2 separate regions of the Homo sapiens genome follow, and region 2 is linked to region 1. The links are contacts of gene promoters, found by promoter capture Hi-C in human tissues and cell types (Jung and others, 2019). All regions are on one chromosome and are shown on one strand. Each heading gives the region's core, a stretch centred on a gene start or on the middle of the fragment in contact. The rest is flanking DNA. Distances are from core to core; before and after follow the strand shown. Region 1 holds the start of IDI1 (isopentenyl-diphosphate delta isomerase 1). Region 2 has its middle 32 kb from the start of PFKP-DT.

Evidence for each region. The method cuts DNA at HindIII sites, captures the fragments that hold promoters and counts their contacts. A contact is called where the count stands out against the background at its distance.
Region 2: a fragment that was not itself captured here is called in contact with the fragment with the promoter of IDI1 in region 1 in 1 of the 25 tissues and cell types used here (mesenchymal stem cells).

What each region holds. Positions count from the first base shown.
Region 1 is chr10:1,047,287-1,050,885 of GRCh38, reverse strand. IDI1 (isopentenyl-diphosphate delta isomerase 1) reads left to right here and starts at 1,767. Exons shown (of 5, transcript NM_004508.4): 1 at 1,767-2,022. The coding sequence starts at 1,883. RefSeq lists enhancers at 1,119-1,258, 930-1,459, 1,719-1,768, 1,460-1,989, 1,990-2,520 and silencers at 1,859-2,078, 2,089-2,178. The HindIII fragment of the contact is 3,155 bases long and covers 568-3,599 here.
Region 2 is chr10:3,032,777-3,036,375 of GRCh38, reverse strand. No RefSeq gene overlaps it. Among named protein-coding and RNA genes, the nearest start is that of PFKP-DT, 32 kb to the left of the region's middle. The HindIII fragment of the contact is 5,516 bases long and covers 1-3,599 here.

The DNA.
Region 1 (3,599 bases), core at 518-3,017:
TTCTTTGTAACATTGATGAGAAAAAGACTCCCAGCCAGGGGCACTGTCTTTGTGGTGTTTACGTGTTCTCGCCACACCTGCATAGGTTTTCTCTGGGTGCTGCAGTTCTTGCCACATCCCAGAGGTGTGCACGTGAGGTGAACTGGTGTGTCTTCACTGTCCCAGTCTGAGTGTGGGTGTGTGAGTGGCCCTGTGATGGAATGGCGTCCTGTCCAGGGCTGGTTCCCTCTTTGTGCCCTGAGCTACTGAAACAGGCTTCAGCTACACATGACCCAGAACTGGAATAATTAAGTAATAATTATCTTTTTATTCATCTTTCTTAAATGTATGTATAGCTCACATTTATTTCAATGTTTAATATTAGAATACTTTGGCCTTTAGAAGCTTAGTGATTTTTTTTTTCCTTGGCCAGAAGTATGCTTTAGGAACTTAATCCTTATTTTTTAGCCTCTGGTAAAATTGGTTTTGCTATACGTTGTTTCACTTAAAAGTCCTGATTCCCAAGAACGCACTGACAGCAGTGAGGACTTGCTGCGCATGCGGGAGGCCAGATTTTCTTATCTGTGTGAAGCCAGACATGAAAGAGATCTGTCAACACATAAAACAAAATCAAAGTCTGTTTTTTGTCTGGAAAAGATTTTTAATAAAAATATAACTTATGTTAGTGTCGTGTGTTTTTTAAGTGAATATTTTAATATGTTTAATTTCTATGTTAGTAAATAGCAGTAGTAAACAACAGTGAGCAAAAGCTTTTAGGTGTCCTCAGTACATTTTAAGAGAGTGCAAGCGTCCTGTGACCAAGAAGTTTGAGAACTGGTGCCCACCAGGTTCATCTCACAAGTTCAGTATTTTAAATTCCACACAAAAGGTAGAGGAAATAGCTGAATTCGCTTCAGCTGCGCATACATTTCACGATTATTTAAAAGTTTAGAGGGCTAGGCGCGGTGGCTCACACCCGGAATCTCAGCACTTCGGTAAGCTGAGCCAGGTGGATCACTTGAGGTCAGGAGTTCCAGACCAGCCTGACCAACATGCGGAAACCCGTCTCTACTAAAAATACGAAATAAGCCGGGCGTGGTGGCGCATGCCTGTAATTCCAGCTACTTGGGAGGCTGAGACGGGACAATTGCCTGAACCCGGGCGGCGGAGGTTGCTGTGAGCGGAGACTGCACCATTGCACTCAAGCCTGGGCAACAAGAATGAAACTGTCTCAAAAAAAAAAAATTTAGAACGTAGTCATGTACCTCGAAAGCGAACACTCCCAACATAGCGTGGAACACCCCACACCCCCGGCGACTTTGCTCCGCCTTGGTCCCGGTCGCAGACACCGCAGAAAGGCCATCGTTCTAGACATACGAGAACTCCCCGTGCAGCCAAACGCTGTAGTCCCAGCGGCGGAACTCGGGGGGGGGGAGGGGGGGGAGTGCCCAACCAGCCAGTCAGCAGTGACGTCCCGCCTTTCCTCCGTTTCCATTGGTCCAGCCATGCGGAGGTCGCTCCCATGGGACGCCGAGCTTCCGGCTGCAGGGCTTGGCGCCCGGGCGCTTTCGGATTGGGAGGGCTTCCTCCATGGAACGCGAGCCTCGAGACGTCTGACGTTAGGCACCGTTCGCAGCGCCTCGGGCTCGCACGGCAGGATCGAAAGCGTGATTGGCTGGCGGCGTCTGTGGTCTCGGGCACCGCCCAGTCGCGGGACGCTGCCTCTGCGGAACTGGGGGTGGGGCGTGTTGACCCCCTTAAAGGCGCCAGAGCCCGCGGTCACGGCTCAGGTTCCCGGTGCTTCGCGCGTCTGCCGTTGTCACAGGCCAGGGAGGTGGCACCACCAGGCGAAGCTTGGCGAGATTGTGTCGTCAAGCGCGTACGGGCGCCAATTGGCCGGGCGATGTGGCGTGGACTGGCGCTGGCGCGAGCGATTGGCTGCGCGGCCCGGGGGCGGGGCCAGTGGGCGGTGCGCGCCGCAGACTGTGCTCAAAGCGGGCGCCATCCGGGACCGGCGGTTGTCTGTGGCCGGAGGCTGATCAGGTACTGTGGACGGGCGGCGGAGTTCGGGAGACAGGGGCAGGGCGGCATCGGGGAGCTGCGGGACGGGGCGGGGAGGAGGCCCGAGGTCTGAGCCACCCGTGAGGTCTCGGCGCGGAGGCCTGGACAGCTGGGGGTGGCGGCGTTGGTCTCCCGAACTGGAGGGAGGCCGGGCCTTCCCGGGCTGTGGTGGGCGCCCGCGCCCCGTGGAAGGCGGAGGCGTGAGTCGGGGCGTCAGAGACGTTGCCATTCTTTGTCAGCGGAAAAGATCGTCGTCTGCGCACAGTCACCTGAGGTTTAGGAACTCGTGGAACTGGAAACCGAGTCGCAGGAGACTAAGAGTTGCGAGTCTCCCCTTAGAGAATTCAGAAACAAGCGTAGACAGCATCGTCAGAAACACGAGCGTGACGACACCGGCCTCCCCGTGCCGAGTCCACGCGTGTGACGCGGGTGCATACACCTGCGTCCGTGCAAGAGGGTGACAGCAACACACTCAAGGCGCTTCTCCTGGGAATGGAGCAGGAGAAGAGATGGGGAGCATCGCATAGATGGAACTAGACCTTTTTCTTGGGTTGGATGATGTGTTCCCGCGTCTACTACATGGTATTCTTTAAACGCATAAATAGACGTATTCATTTTATCTTGTGATTATGCAGCTTAGCTTTAAAATCTGAATTCTGAAAATCCTGAAAGAGCAATTGTCATTACAGCTGGGCGGTGGTGCACGCCTTTAATCCCAGCACTTTGGGAGGCGGAGTCGAAGGCTGCAGTGAGCCGAGATCGCGCCACTGCACTCCAGCTTGGGCGACAGACATAGCAAGACCCAGCCCCATCCCCCCGGAAAAAAAGTCATGTCAAAAAGTCTAGTAATTATGTAGTAACGAAACCTATCTTAGTGATCACCTAATATACAGTTGGCCTACTGTATCCTTGGGGTCCATATCCATGGATTTAACCAACTGCACATTATAAAATATTTGGAAAAAAATTTCATCTGTACTGAACATATACAGACTTATTCTGTAAACAATACAGCACAACTATTTATGTAGGATTTACATGTTTTAGATACTATAAGAGATCATCTACAGATGATAATTTAACGTTCGGCCCGCATCACTTAACAGGGATACTTTGGAGAAGTTCATTGTTAGGTACTTTCATCATTGTGGAAGCAGAGTGCGCTGACGCAGACCTAGACAGTGGAGCAGCTGGGCTGTGTGGTGTAGACAGACGGTGGAGCAGCTGGGCTGTGTGGTGTAGACAGTGGAGCAGCTGGGCTGTGTGGTGTAGACAAAGGACCAGACAGTGGAGCAGCTGGGCTGTGTGGTGTAGACAGTGGAGCAGCTGGGCTGTGTGGTGTAGACAGTAGACAGTGGAGCAGCTGGGCTGTGTGGTGTAGACAGTGGAGCAGCTGGGCTGTGTGGTGTAGACAGTGGAGCAGCTGGGCTGTGTGGTGTAGACAGTGGAGCAGCTGGGCTGTGTGGTGTAGACAGTGGAGCAGCTGGGCTGTGTGGTGTAGACAGTGGAGCAGCTGGGCTGTGTGGTGTAGACAGTGGAGCAGCTGGGCTGTGTGGTGT
Region 2 (3,599 bases), core at 743-3,242, 2.0 Mb before region 1:
TTCAGTTCCTCTTCTCACTAGAAAGTGATTTCCTGGTAAAAGTGAGCCTAAAACACCACCCTCATTGCCATGGTAGAGAGATGAAAACAAACCGCCTACGGGGAACACAGGACAAGTATGCCCGGGTTAGAGAAGCATAATTCCAAAACTACTCAGGGCTGGCAGGGGAGTTACACAGCTCAGCATTCATCCCTGGATATGCAGACCATACCTTGAATAAGTTTATAAGCAACAATTAAATGTTGAAATAAATATCTTGAAAGGAGAAGCAGATATTTCAGGGTGGACGAGGTCTGAGAATTGAGTGGGGTTTAGACAAAAATGTCATCAGCAGAGAGCATTCCTGGCTGATCCAAAGAGAAAGTTCTCACTGATCTTTTTCTGAGAGAAACAGAGTGAATGGGATCAGAATCTACTTAATATCTTTATAGCTCATATTCTATTGACTACTAGGAAACAATTGTTCCAGTATAGTTGTTGTTTTCATGAAGCTTGACTTAAATGAATTGCTTTGAAAATACTGGGTTGACATTATCTAGCAGTGAAGGATGTGGTGTCAAGGAATATAAAACATCAGGTTAAAAACTACCTTAAGAAATTGGTCTTTAAGATTCCTGACTAAGGGTGTTGTGGTACATGAGGTGATATGGTTTGGCTCTGTGTCCCCACCCAAATCTCACCTGGAATTGCAATAATCCCCATGTGTCATGGGAGGGACCTGGTGGGAGGTAATTGAAAAATGGGGGAGGGTTCTTTCCCGTGCTGTTCTCGTGACAGTAAGTCTCACGAGATCTGATGGTTTTATAAAGGGGACGTCCCCCCCACATGCTCTCTTGCCTGCCGCCACATAAGACATGACTTTGCTCCTCATTCAGCTTCCGCCATGATTCTGAGGCCTCCCCAGCGACGTGAAACTGTAAGTCCATTTAACCTCTTTGCTTTATACATTACCCAGTCTTGGGTCTGTCTTTGTTAGCAGTGTGAGAGCAGACGAATACATAAGGATGCTGCTTTATTTTTCACAACCATCGTTACTCAGTCCTAAGTGTTTCTCTTCATCGAATGAAGACAACGTTTGCTTTGGAGAGGGAATGAATTAATGAAGACTCCGAGCTCTTGGAATGAGCTCCGTGAGATGATGCTGAATCCTGATGAATATCTTTTGGTGCTGGGAGTTCTCTCTGGATATGAGGTCCCTATGTTTATAGATAAATTAGGCCCATAAATACTGAGGTGGAAGGAAAGGAAAAGTCCCCCTACAGATGTGTAAATGAATGACTTGACTCAAACTTTTTTTTAAAATTTTTTTTTAAGAAAAGACGCTCCAAGACATAGGAGCAATCAATGTTACTGTTAAAGGAGGGGGCAGGCTTCAATGTTATCGTGAAGGACACTGGAATGTTGCTGTTTATTAATTTTGGGTTGTTTTACTTTTGTAGAAGGGGAAGTTGAGATAGTTGGCATGCAAAGCACATGTTGTCAGCTTTAGCTATTTTAATCGCAGTGAGAAATGGAATTAACTGCTGAACCAAAACCACTGGAGAATAATTAGGGTCACTATTTTTCCTGAATCATGGATTTCCTAATCTTCAGAAGACTCGGGCATTTTGACTCATTTGACTACTTCAGTTTCCTCAAATTTTCTTATTAAAACTATTTAAAATAATATAGCAATAAAGAGGAACTTCCAACAATACCTCTTCACTGTATCTCAGCGTCTACTTTGTTGAACAAGAATACCATGAATGTCTGACCTTTACATCGTTGAAACTTTTTTCTAAAAATCAGTCATGCTTGATCCAGAAGATAATTTATATCCTTAAAGTCTCCTTTCACAAGAGTTCTGTGGGTGCACTGAGGAACACAAGGCTTTATCTATTATAGAAGGTAAAAGAATGTCCACGAACAACCTTTTGTTCTCCCAAGTTGGTCACCTTTACTAATTACATCCAGCAAGTCCTGGGCAGATCCTAATATGACCTAACTTAGAATCCTATTGGTCAGTCTGGGGATCTTCTCCTAAAGAAGTTTGGTACTGGCAAATACTAGGTCTCAGTAACATGATCCCAATGTGAGCATTGTCTCTTGTACTGACATTTCTATTTTACTGATTTTTTTTTTGTAAGTGTTGTGCTGTGTGCCAGGCACCACGCCAAGCCCTTTAGCATTTCTAATTTACGTAATCATCCTAATAACCTCATGAGGAAAGTGCCATAGTGTTCCCACTCACTGGACAAGGACACTGAGAGAGACGCCATCTGCCTATTTGTCCATGGCACCAGGGCTGTGCCTCCCTGGGCTCGTGGGCCATGGGCTGCAGCACAGCCTCTGCTGTTATTCTTAAGGACCTCTTGATATGCAGTCAGTTTTCTATTTCTTTCTTTTTTTTTTTTTGGTTTGTTTGTTTTTGAGACGGAGTCTCACTCTGTCACCCAGGCTGGAGTGTAGTGACATGATCATGGCTCACTGCAACCTCCACCTCCTGGGTTCAAGCGATTCTCCTGTCTCAGCCTCCCGGGTAGCTGGAACTACAGGCACACACCACCACACCTGGCTAATTTTTGCATTTTTAATAGAGACGGGGTTTCAGCATGTTGGCCAGGCTGGTCTCGAACTCCTGACCTCAAGTGATGCGCCTGCCTCGGCCTCCCAGAGTGCCAGGATTACAGGTGTGAGCCACCTGCCTGATCTGGTTTTATATTTCTAAATGTAATAGAACGTAATTTCTGGATAAAGAGTTTGGGCTGTTGAGCCAGATTTGGGTTTGAATTGAGCTCAGCTGCTTATTAGCTGGGCGAAGTTCAGAAACATGGTCACTTTCCTTTGAGTCTTTGTCTTATCTGTGACATAAAAATAAGTCAACCTGTAGGGATAATGACATAATTAGAAAAAAATACACCAAACACTACAGATGGCACCTGACTCTTAGTAGCACTTGGTAGGACCTATTTAATAATGATCGATTAAATATTAATAATAAGGCAAACAGGGATAGAAAAAATGTGGCTACAAACAAGAGACCTGGAAATCACCACCCCATCCACAAACAATTGGGTCAATAATTGAATGCTGTTTTGTTTTCCAATCCTACCAGCTTCAATAAATATAGACTGCCGTATCTCTATGCATCAGACATGTCCATCCTTTGGTTGAGCGAGACACAGGGTGAGTGAGTCTTACTGCATTTACTTTTCCCCCCTGTAACATGTAATCGGTCTCTTGTTTTCTCGAATTGATCAGTTTCAGAATGGCTTCCAAGATATTCATGGAATAACAAACTATTTATTGGTGGCAGAAATATCGTATCCTCAGCCTTCAATGGGCTCAAAGGAAAAAACACCTGCTCCTTAAGTCTCCATGGGCTCAGCTCTTGATCACCGGCTTCTTGAACAACAGTCCCATCTGTGTGGCGGTCCTGATGTTGTATTTTATATTTTATTAAAATACACAGGTGATACGCACTCGCAGGTGCATACATGTCCTATCCTGGTCTGTGATTTTTCTGTCCAAGATGGTGGCTGTTGTACCCTTGATTTTCTGAAGTCACCAGCACACAGCCTCAGTGCCAGTGGTCATCAGCCGTGTTATCAGCTTTCAGG